Regions from separate parts of the Homo sapiens genome. Here region 2 is linked to region 1. The links are contacts of gene promoters, found by promoter capture Hi-C in human tissues and cell types (Jung and others, 2019). All regions are on one chromosome and are shown on one strand. Each heading gives the region's core, a stretch centred on a gene start or on the middle of the fragment in contact. The rest is flanking DNA. Distances are from core to core; before and after follow the strand shown.

The links. Contacts are between HindIII fragments. The study calls those that stand out against the background at their distance.
Region 2: a fragment that was not itself captured here is called in contact with the fragment with the promoter of HYPK in region 1 in 3 of the 25 tissues and cell types used here (IMR-90 fibroblasts, dorsolateral prefrontal cortex and mesenchymal stem cells).

Annotation. Positions count from the first base shown.
Region 1 is chr15:43,799,349-43,805,008 of GRCh38, forward strand. HYPK (huntingtin interacting protein K) reads left to right here and starts at 1,251. Exons shown (of 4, transcript NM_016400.4): 1 at 1,251-1,436; 2 at 1,784-1,839; 3 at 2,170-2,221; 4 at 2,363-5,079. The coding sequence starts at 1,275. The coding sequence ends at 2,458. It overlaps SERINC4 (serine incorporator 4), which reads right to left and starts at 872. Exons shown (of 12, transcript NM_001258031.2): 1 at 537-872; 2 at 1-138. The coding sequence starts at 638. It overlaps SERF2-C15ORF63 (SERF2-C15orf63 readthrough), which reads left to right. Exons shown (of 6, transcript NR_037673.1): 3 at 1,147-1,436; 4 at 1,784-1,839; 5 at 2,170-2,221; 6 at 2,363-3,241. MFAP1 (microfibril associated protein 1) reads right to left here. Exons shown (of 9, transcript NM_005926.3): 9 at 5,144-5,660. RefSeq lists enhancers at 1-669, 670-1,370, 1,278-1,527. The HindIII fragment of the contact is 6,811 bases long and covers 1-4,815 here.
Region 2 is chr15:44,485,061-44,491,075 of GRCh38, forward strand. It overlaps CTDSPL2 (CTD small phosphatase like 2), which reads left to right. Exons shown (of 13, transcript NM_016396.3): 4 at 1,491-1,640; 5 at 5,724-5,939. Among named protein-coding and RNA genes, the nearest start is that of EIF3J-DT, 49 kb to the right of the region's middle. The HindIII fragment of the contact is 5,338 bases long and covers 1,866-6,015 here.

The sequences.
Region 1 (5,660 bases), core at 1-2,500:
TGACAGCAGGAGGCAGCAGATTGCTGAGGCCCCCACATGGAGGAGGATGTAGAACAGGCGGCTGCAAGTGGATGCGGTGAGAGAGGGCCACCTAGAGTGGCAGCAGCTGGCACAAGGAGCAGGCCCACAGCAGCACACCTGGGAGTAGAGCAGATGCAAGGCAGCGAGGTGGAGACTTGCTGAGGAAAGGCATACGTTAATGTATGTGTGAGGTTAACCCAGGAGGTTGAATTCCAAAATTTCCCCTTCCCCTTTCTTCCTTTTACTCAGGTTCTGTTTCAAGCTGATTCCAGCCATTTGGGATTGCCGCCCACTGACAACTTAGTAGGGCTTTCATTATAAGCAGGCTTGAGATATCTGACCTTTCTCTCGACCTAAACACCTGGGGCTGGAAACATGGCGGGAGAGATTTACAGATTATACCTGGGGCAACGAACCAGAACGACATTAGAGGAGAAAAGAGGCCTGTCGTTTTTATTGGCTTCTGCACGTCTTCCTCCCCAGCTTCGGCCACTCTCCCCTTCGCACCCTCTCACCTGACAGAAGGGACTTTTCACTAGGACACTGCTGCCTCCGCTGTGCTGCTGTGCCAGGCCCAGGGAGGTGCCGGGGCTGGGGCCGGCCTTGGCACCCACCATCCTTGTCCCAGGGATTAGGCTTAGGTCCACCAGATGGAAGGCAGATGAGAGCAGCAGTTGCTTCTGTCCTCAGCCCATTGGACTGCCACTGTGTTGGGGCTGAGCACCCGGTCCCGGGCAGAATGGAGACGTCCGGAAGAGAACACTGACCTCCAGGTTGCGGTAAATGCAAATGCCCTGTGAAGGAGCTTTGTCCTTAGGGCCTCAACACTGCGGCCACTCAGGCTGTTCTCTCCAGATTAGGGGGCAGTTTGTCTATCTGGCCCCCTGTGGATTAGCATTCTTTATTGGTTTAGGATTAGACGTCATTCAGGTTGAACGGAGTTCCCTGAGGTGGGTGGGTGCGTGTTTATGTGTTGAGGGGACTATTCCTAGTTTATGAGGTGGTTAAGGATATCGGTGGGGTGGGCTGGAGCGGTGTCGGGTTAGGTCTGAGAGAAGGCCTCGCACAAAACACTGTACAAACCCGAAAGGAAGTCTGAGAGACGAACCGCCTTCCTCCCTGAAGCTTCTAGAACTGGAGCAGAAAGAAGGTGTGGCCCAGGGCCAGCCCCGCCTCCTCCCCGGGCGGAAGCTGTGTCAGTTGCCGGAAGTCGGCGTGAGGTGGGGCTTATGCGGCGGCGTGGTGAAATAGATATGGCGACCGAGGGGGATGTGGAGCTGGAGTTGGAGACTGAGACCAGTGGACCAGAGCGGCCTCCGGAGAAGCCACGGAAACATGACAGCGGTGCGGCGGACTTGGAGCGGGTCACCGACTATGCAGAGGAGAAGGAGATCCAGAGTTCCAATCTGGAGACGGTAAGGTTGGCCAAGAGCATGTCGGGGCGGGCTGAGAGCAGAGGGGGGCTCTGAGGCTGTAGCTGGAAGCCAGCGCTCCAAGACGGGGTTCTGATCCCGTTGGCAGGAGGAGGCAATAGGGTAGAGCCGAGGGAAACAGCGGTCACCGGAGCGCGCCGCTTGCCTAAAGGAGCTTGATAGTGGGCTTAAGGGGACCTCAGGTGCATAGAATGGAATTAAACATAGTCCTTGCTACCTGGTAACACTTGTCATCGTGAATCCATGCATGAACCGCTTGTTTTGTTGGCCTTTTAGATTATTGGGAATTGTGGGTAGCGGTGCAGTAACTAGACCTGCCTTTCCCATAGGCCATGTCTGTGATTGGAGACAGAAGGTCCCGGGAGCAGAAAGCCAAACAGGAGCGGTAAGTCTTCAGGGGCAGCCAACTTTAACAGTTCTTCCCTCCCCGGTCCCCAGACAAAAATAAAAACCATTATTAAGCCTTTATACCGTTCTTCAAATTTATCACCAATTCCTGCAGATCTAGGCGCCACAACTTTACTCTTGTTAGCAGAAGGCCTCCTGGCAACACCTGCTGCCAAGACTCCAGGGGAAAGGAGTATTAGTGGGAGTTTTTATTTTCAATCAAGGGTTTATCAAGATTTATTTACAGGGCACTTCTGGGAATGACCCTTCCTGGGAGTTTATGGTGTTGGTTGAGAATGAGGACTAATATATTTAAATATTTTTGCAGGGAGAAAGAACTGGCAAAAGTCACTATCAAGAAGGAAGATCTGGAGCTAATAGTGAGTGGTAGTGCCTAACTAGTGTATGCGGAGGGGAGGCTATTCTGCTTAATTTGGGTTGTTTCCTGAAACAAGCGGAGTCAGTATATTTGGTGGCACATTAATGCCTGGGAACCTATGTAACATGATTTTTTTCTGCAGATGACTGAGATGGAGATATCTCGAGCAGCAGCAGAACGCAGTTTGCGGGAACACATGGGCAACGTGGTAGAGGCGCTTATTGCCCTAACCAACTGATGCGTGCTTTCTCAAATATACCTACTGGATTAATTTATGGCAATAAAATTTTTTTTTGTCTTTTTCAGTTTTATCATCTTGGGTCAAGTAGAGTGTATACTATATCCTATGTTGTGGAGAATTTATATGTTGGAGACTAACTGAATTTAAGTGACCCATTAAAATCTAGCACACCTGTATGAAAAATCAGTGTAGAAGAATACCTCATGTGCAGATGCTAGGTGGCAGGCCAGTCTCATTCATCTGACTAGCTCTCAACAGTATTCAAGGTACATCTGGAGTCTCAGCAGAGTTACTGTACTCAAATGGCATGTGTCTCCAAGACAGCTTATGAATATCTAAAAGGCCAGCTACCTGCCTAGGAGCCACTATATATATAGATAGATGTAGGTTATGAACCCAGTTCATAGGCCACCTTGAGTTAGAATTTTGGTACCTACAACATGCTTGATTTTGAGTGATTAAAAAAAAATAATTTGGCTGGGTGCTGTGGCTCACACCTCTAATCCCAGCACTTTGGGAGGTCGAGGCAGGTAGATCACGAGGTCAGGAATTCAAGACCAGCCTGGCCAACATGTGAAACCCCGTCTCCACTGAAAATAGAAAAATTAGCTGGGCATGGTGGTGGGCGCCTATAATCCCAGCTATTCTGGAGGCTGAGGCAGGAATCGCTTGAAATTGGAAAGCAGAGGTTGCAGTGAGCTGAGATCACACTACTGTACTACTGTACTCCAGCCTGGGGGAAAGAGTGAAACTCCATCTCAAAAAAAAAAAAAAAAAAAAAAGCCCGGGCACAGTGGCTCACACCTGTAATCCCAGCACTTTGGGAGGCTGAGGCAGTCGGATCATGAGGTCAGGAGTTGAAGACAAGCCTGGCCAACATGGTGAAACCCTGTCTCTACTAAAAATACAAAAAAAATAAAATTAGCCAGGCGTGGTGGTGCATGCCTGTAGTCCCAGCTACTCAGGAGGCTGAAGCAGAAGAATTGCTTGAACCAGGGAGGCGGAAGTTGCAGTGAGCTGAGATTGTGCCACTGTACTCCAGCCTGGGTGACAGAGCGAGACTGTCTCAAAAACAAAACAACAAAAAAGAATTTAGGGGCCAGGCATGGTGGCTCATGCCTGTAATCCCAACACCTTGGGAAGCTGAGGCAAGACGATCACTTGAGCCCAGCAGTTTGAGACCAGCTTGGGCAACACAGTGAGATTTCGTCTCTACCGCGCTCCCCCCACCACCAAAAAAAGAATTTAGGTACCTGAGGGTTAGAACATGGTAAGACTAGAAGATATCAAAGGTTGGGCCAGGTGTGGTGACTCATGCCTGTAACCCCAGCACTTTGGGGAGGCTGGGCTGGGAGGACTGTGTCAGGTCAGGATTTCCAGACCAGCCTGGGCAACATAGCATGACCTTGTCTCTACTAAAATTAAAAAAAAAAAAAGCCAGGCATGGTGGCATGTGCCTGTCTGTGGTCCCAGATACTCTGGAGGCTGAGATGGATTTGCTTGAGCCTGGGAGGTTGAGGCTGCAGTGAGCTGAGATTGTGCTACTGCACTCCAGCCTGGGCGACAGAGCAAGACTGTCTCAAAACGAAAAAAACCTATGAAAGGTTTTGATTGGTATTCAAATTCTAAGCCATAATACATTCTACATGCCATTTCCTATCCTAGAGAGAAGGTAATTTTACTTTAAAGGTTAATCAGGGCCGGGCGTGGTGGCGCATGCCTATAATCCCAGCACTCTGGGAGGCCGAGGCAGGTGGATCACCTGGGATCAGGAGTTTGAGACGAGCCTGGCCAAAATGGTGAAACCCCATCTCTACTAAAAGTACAAAAAAAAATTAGCTGGGTGTGGTGGTGGACGCCTGTAATTCCAGCTACTAGGGAGGCTGAGGCAGGAGAATCTCTTGAACCCAGGAGGTTGCAGTGAGCAGAGATCGCGCCACTGCACTCCAGACTGGGCAACAAGAGTGAAACTCCATCTCAAAAAAAAAAAAAAAAAAAATCAGCTTGGACCAACTCACACATGTTGAACTAGTTTCCTCAACTATAAAACTGTGACGGCCCCAGCTAGGCACAGTGGCTCAACGCCTGTAATCTCAGCACTTTGGGAGGCTGAGGCGGGCGGATCGCGAAGTGAAGATCAAGACCATCCTGGCTAACATGGTGAAACCCCGTCTCTACTAAAAATACAAAAATTAGCCAGGCATGGTGGCAGGCGCCTGTAGTCCCAGCTACTCGGGAGGCTGAGGCACTCTAGCCTGGGCAACAGAGCCGTCTCTTTAAAACAAACAAACAAACAAAAAAAAAACCCTGCAACGGCCCCTGAGTCTGCTGTAAGGACACTCAAATGGCAATTACAGACATTTCTCCAAGAGTTTCAAGGCCTTACCCTCATTCTGACTCTAGGATAATTCTTAGATTGTATCCCACACAACAGTGACTTGTACCTGTGTTCATCTTTATGTATTTACCACCTCATAGTAATTATTTGCATTCATTTTTATCGTACGACACTAAACTATTTGATTCTTCCAGTGGGACATTTAAAGGATGTGAGAAGACCTTGGTCTTCTCAAAAACATCTGTATTTGGTCATGGAATAAATCCAGATGCTACCTAAAGCCAAGCTAGTACCTGAGCTTGTTTCTGAGATCAAAGGGAATTATCAAAATGTGAAACACCTTCTGCCTGACAATTGTTATCTTTTACTTTAATAGGCAATTAATACTTGTCAGCTTGGACATTTTATTTCCAGTATCATGCTAAAAATCTCCTTGTTGTGTGATTCTTTTATTTCTTGACATGCACACATATATGGATCAAAAAGTATGTACAACTAGAAAAACGGACTCCAAGCAAAAATGGAAAACATGTTTCCATGAGCTTAGATTTCCGGGTATATTACTCCTAAACCTAAGGTAGAAGTAATGCATTGTTCACTTACATGTCCACTTTTCTAACCCAAGCTAAGGGCTGGAAAAAGAAAGTCAGAACAGTCCCAAGTAAATATGGGAAACCATAGCAGTGATAAAACCTAAGATTTCTCAGAAATAGTTTTAAGTGGGAAGCCTCTAATCCTACCTGGACAGTGCTTTCCTGTGGGTTTCTCAGCATGAGTCCAAACCTCACAAAGCACCTTCAAAGTCTGGGCTACCCAGTATCACAAGTATAGCAGTAAGTCCAATATCTGGATACAGGGGCC
Region 2 (6,015 bases), core at 3,285-5,784, 690 kb after region 1:
TAGGGGTGATTTTTTCCTCCAAGGGACATTTGTCAATATCTAGAGACCTTTTTGGTTGTCACAACTTGTGGAGGGGTGGCTACTAGTGTCTACTAGGTGGATGTCAGAGATGTTAAACATCCTACAATACACAGGACAGCTCTTCAAAACAAAGAATTAGACTGAAATGTCAATACTGCCGCTGTTGATAAACTCTGTCAATACCTTGTTGCATAGCAGAGAAACTCCTCAAAGTCAAAAAGAAGGAGAATAGCATTAAGGAAAAGCAGAGACAGCTATAAAGAATAACACTTTAGAGCAACAGTCCCCAACCTCTTGGCAGCAAGGACCAGTTTTGTGGAAGACAGTTTTTCCACTGACAGTGATGGGAATGGTTTCAGGATGAAACTGTTCCATCTCAGATCATCAGACATTAGTTAGATTCTCATAAGGATCGCACAACCTAGATCCCTTGCATGTAAAGTTCACAGTAGGGTTCGTGTTCCTAAAAGAATCTAATGCAGCAGCTTATCTGCAGATAAGGTAGTAGAGGCAGAGCTCAGGCGTTAATGCTTGTTCACCTCCTGCTCTGCGGCCCAGTTCCTAATAGGCTGCGGACTGGTACCAGTGGGTATGGGGTTAGGGACCCCTGCTTTAGAGTATGGAGTACTGTTTTAACGAATGCTATCTTAAACACAGCAGCAATTTCTCCCCTTGTCTCTGCCCAGTGCAGCAATATATCTTTATTGTTAGAAAAAACAAACCAGGAGGGAGAAAAAGACTGAGACAAGACAAGGGGGACAAAATAGAGAAAGAAACAAGTTAAAAGAACCATAGCAAAGAAGGAAATAAGTGTTGTAGACATCAAAAGTTGAGGAGAATCAAAGGATGATTAATTAGAACAGTTGATTGATTTTACTTTTATATTCTTAAAAGATCTGTGGAACATTTTGATTTACAGGAAACTTAAAATTATTTTCCCTAGCCACTCTGAGATGGCGTCTCAGTGTCCATAAGTAATTTTTGACACTGCTATATATAGCCTTTTGCTTCAGTAGAGTTATGTTGCCTCTATTCATTTCGCTGTCATTCATTAGATAGAAGCAGATGTGAGGGAAGGTTTTATGAATTAGAACCGTCCTAGAATGTAAACAAAAATAAAATTATTTGTGTTTTAGTTGGTGGGAACTAGTTTGCTTGTTTACAAAGAATTTTCTTCATTTTGTGTTATACTGTGTTGATTTGAAGCCTTTCAGTCTATAGGTGTAAATCTACTTTGAAAAAACTCAGTAAATATTAGCATTATAAACACATTGATACATAAAGAGCATTTGACTTACGAGTAATTTACCTCAATGTTTCTTTAATAAGCTTTCCTGAACATTAACATTAATTAGCTTTCGTGAAGTATTTTGAGGGAAAAAGAGTTACTTCTATAATGAATGATTTATAACACACTTCTGAAATTCAGTGTTTTCTAGATCATGACTTTTTTCTTGTTTCTTTTTTAGAAGCTGGTAGTTATGAAATGACAAATCAACATGTAAAACAAAATGGAAAATTAGAAGATAATCCTTCCTCTGGCAGTCCTCCAAGGACTACTTTGTTGGGGACCATATTTTCACCTGTCTTCAACTTTTTTTCACCAGCAAATAAAAATGGTAAGTATAAACTGTTAACTGTGATTTGGATTTTTTTTAAAAAAATGCATAGTTTGGGTTTTTTTTTTTTTTTTTTCTTGAGACGAAGTCTCTCTTTGTTGCCCAGGCTGGAGTGCAGTGACGCGATCTCCCCGCTCACTGCAGCCTCTGCCTCCCAGGTTCAAGCAATACTCCTGCCTCAGCCTTACAAGTAGGTGGGACTGTAGGTACCTGCCACCATGCCCGGCTAATATTTTTTGTATTTTTGGTTGAGACGGGGTTTCACCATGTTGACCAGGCTGGTCTCAAACTCTTGACCTTCAAGTGATCCGCCCACCTCGGATTCCCAAAGTGCTGGAATTACAGATGTGAGCAACTGTGCCCAGCAAAAAAATACATAGTTTTTAAAAAGATCTTTTTTATTTTATTAGCATATTTTGTCAATGTCTCGTGTATGTTTTCCACCTCATTAATAATATACAGCTCCTTGGGAGCTGGGTGTGGTGGCTGATGCCGGTAATCTGAACTCTTCGGGAAGCCAAGACAGGAGAATTGCTCAAGGGCAGGAGTTTGAGACTAGCCTGGGCAACATAGTGAGACCCTGTCTCTACAAAAAAATGTAAAAATTATTTGGGCGTGGTAGTGCACGCCTGTAGTCCTAGCTACTCCAGAGGCTGAGGTGGGAGGAATGCTTCAATCCAGCAGTTTGAACCCAGGAGTTTGAGGCTGCAGTGTGCTGTGATTGTACCACTGCACTCAAGCTTGGACAGCCAAGTAGGGGGTCCACGTAAAAAAAAATAAAAAGAATGGAATGGTCCTGTCTTCTGGGTGGCAGGGGTAGTGGCTCACAAAAGGCTTGAAAGAAAAGCCGAATCTGGAAAAGTGGCAAAAGCCATTCCAGGTAGAAGGAGCAGCATGCGTAGAGGCCTTGCAGCAGAAAACAGCATAGTGTATTTGAGAGCTGTTTGTAGTTTGTAATTGATGGAACATTGCATTTGAGAAGGGATAAGGTAGGAGAGCTATGAAGAAGTCATATAATAGAGCTAACATAGTAAGATGATGAACTTTATTCAAGTATGGGATAATTGAAAGTTTGTTTTGTTTTGTTTTTTTCCCCAAGGTGAAAGCAATTTTATTAAGAAAGTAAAGGAATAGGCCGGGCACCGTGGCTTATACCTGTAATCACAGCACTTTAGGAGGCCGAGGCAGGTGGATCATGAGGTCAGGAGTTCAAGACCAGCCTGACTAACATGGTGAAACCATGTCTCTACTAAAGAAAAATACAAAAGTTAGCTGGATGTGGTGGCATGTGCCTGTAATCCCAGCTACTCAAGGCAGGAGAATCACTTGAACCCAGGAGGCGGAGGCTGCAGTGAGCTGAGATCATGCCACTGCACTCCAGCCTGGGTGACAGAGCAAGACTCCGTCTCAAAAAAAAAAAAAAAAGAAAAAGGAATAAAGAATGGCTCCTCCTCCATAGGCAGAGCGGCCTGAAAGGTTTTAAACTGGTGAATAATACGATCAGATCTATGTTTTATAAAGATCACTTGGGCAGTAGTGTGTAGACTAGATTCTGAAGAGGCCATAGGCAGGTAGAACAATTAGTAGACTTGTAGTCGTTTGTGTGAGACTTGATGAGACCTTAATTGTATTAGAGAAGACAGGAAGGATCAGAGGATAGAAAATAGACACATTTTTGGTGCAGATTGGAGGTGAAAGAGAATAGAGATGAAGATGGCACAAGAGTAGAAGATTCAAGGAAAATAAAGTTCCTGGGAGATAGATAATTGAGTGTAATTTGGACCATGCTGAGTTTGAGATGCCATGAAATATTTAAATAAAAATATTCAGGCTGGGCGCGGTGGCTCAACGCCTGTAATCCGAGCACTTTGGGAGGCCGAGATGGGCGGATCACTTGAGGTCAGGAGTTCAAGACCAGCCTGACCAACATGGAGAAACCTATCTCTACTAAAAATACAAAAAAATTTAGCTGGGCATGGTGGCGCACACCCACCTGTAATCCCAGCTACTCAAGAGGCTGAGGCAGGAGAATTGCTTGAACCTGGGAGGCCGAGGTTGCAGTGAGCTGAGATCGCACCATTGCACTCCAGCCTGGGCAACAAGAGTGAAACTCCATCTCAAAAAACAAAACAAAACAAAAAAAACAAACCCCAGTAGTAATATTTTCCCCTCATGCTGAAGTAAAGAATCTCTGAAGGTGTGTATATCTCTGAAGGTGTGTACAGAAATAGATGTCTGGGGAAGAAGGAGTTGAAGTTTGATAGAGTTTTCTTGGAAGGAAGAGATGGTGTCATTAATGATAGTTCTAGTGGAAGGGACTTGGGAAGAATAGTGAAGGTTTACATTGATATTTTCTTTGTGTGTGTCTCTGTCTCTCTCTCCCCACCCCATACACACACAACCTCTCTCTCCACTCCCACATCTGTCTCTTCCCCCCTCCCCCCCACCTACCTCCTCCCCTCCCCCTGCCTTTCCCTGTCTCTGTGTCTCTGTTTTATTTGGATTATGACCAGTCTTTGTAATTGTATTTTTTGTTCCATAGCCTGCAACTAGGGTCTGAGAAGCCTGTTGGTTACGTTGATTCAAGAGGGATTTCTTGATGGATGACAGTGGAGGAATGAGGGATCAAGGATACTGAGGCTGCCAGTTTGACAGTGTATTTAAGTGATACACCACGAAGTCTAACTAGATGAGGAGGGTTGAGAAGAAGTGTTTGAGGGACGTGTTTGGAATTAAACAGACTGGCCTTTATCAAGTTTGAAGATCACATATAATGGGAGTATGAGATATATAATTTGAGGGTTAGGAGGTTGTGCTAAGTGGTTAATACAGTATTAGAATTTTAGGCTTCAGAGGTGAAGTTTCTCAGTGTTAATGTCCAGGTTATAGCTATGGTAGTAACTGATATAGAGCAGTATGAGTGAAGGTGGTTGGAGCTGAAGAGGGCAAGAACTTTGAGGATTAGTCATTGGATGAGTCATTGACATCATCTGTAATAACAACTAGAAAAAATACTGTGTTAAATAGAGCAGTAAACTAGTAGCTATGTATTAAACTTCTTTGCGATTGAGAGGATTCTGGCAGTAGATGGTAGGTGCCAGCAGTGAGGATAAGTGAAGAATTATATAGCCATGTGACATCAGTCTCAAAAGAGCAGACTTTTTTTGCACATTAGTGGAAAACCAGCGATTGGATAGTAGCAATGGAGATAAATGAATTCTGATTCAATTAGTATATTGGTATGGGAGAATAAAGAGCATTGAGGGAAGGGTATCAGAAAAACCTTTTAGGAAAGAGGTTAAACTTAAAGCAACAAGGGAGAAGGAATGTTCTGTAAGGAAGTTGAGAATATTGGAGGTTAATTTTTTTTGTTATTTTTGTTTAAAATGACATTTGGAAGATTCCAGAAGGAAATGGAAAGACCTGGGATTATTATTTTTTCTTTTTTAATTGAGACAGGGTCTTGCTCTGTCACCCAGGCTGGAGTGCAATAGTACGATCACCGTTCACTGCAGCCTTGACCTCCTTCTGGGCCCAAGCGATCCTCCCACTTCAGCCTCATGAGTAGCTGGGATCACAGATGTGCACCACCACACCCAGCTAGTTTTTATATTCTTTGTAGAGACAGCCATGTTGCCCAGGCTGGTTTTGAACTCCTGAGCTCAAGCAATCTGCTTGCCTCAGCCTCCCAAAGTGCTGGGATTACAGGCATGAGTCACCACACCTGGCCCAGTCTTTGTTATTGAGATGGAGTTTTGCTGAGAAATTATTTTTATATCTTTTAATTAAAAGGTTCTCATGATTAGGGGAACAGCTAATTTTTTGATACCTCTGGTTGAAAAATTACAATTGCACACATGACTAGGATGCAGAAACTTTGCTCACAAATGTTACTCTAGCCTGTAAGTCTTTATTCTTCATTGTTTGAAATAGCTAGCAAAGATTCTCTAAAAGCAATATACTCAGCTTTGTTCCTGCAGGAATGATCAGTCTAAATAAATATATTGTACGGTGATGCTGCATTTAGTTTTTCTAAATAGGTGCATTTTTAAATGATGATAGTACACTGAATCATGATTTCAGGAACGTCAGGATCAGATTCTCCAGGACAGGCTGTGGAAGCTGAAGAAATAGTAAAACAACTTGATATGGAACAGGTGGATGAGATCACTACCAGTACTACTACATCAACTAATGGAGCAGCTTACTCAAATCAAGCAGTTCAAGTGAGACCATCACTAAACAATGGTTTAGAAGAAGCAGAAGAAACAGTTAATCGTGATATCCCACCCCTTACAGGTGAAGAAAATTTCTTTTCTTATACATCTTCATGAGTAGTTGATAAAAAATAACAGTATTTCATATTTTTTCTTAA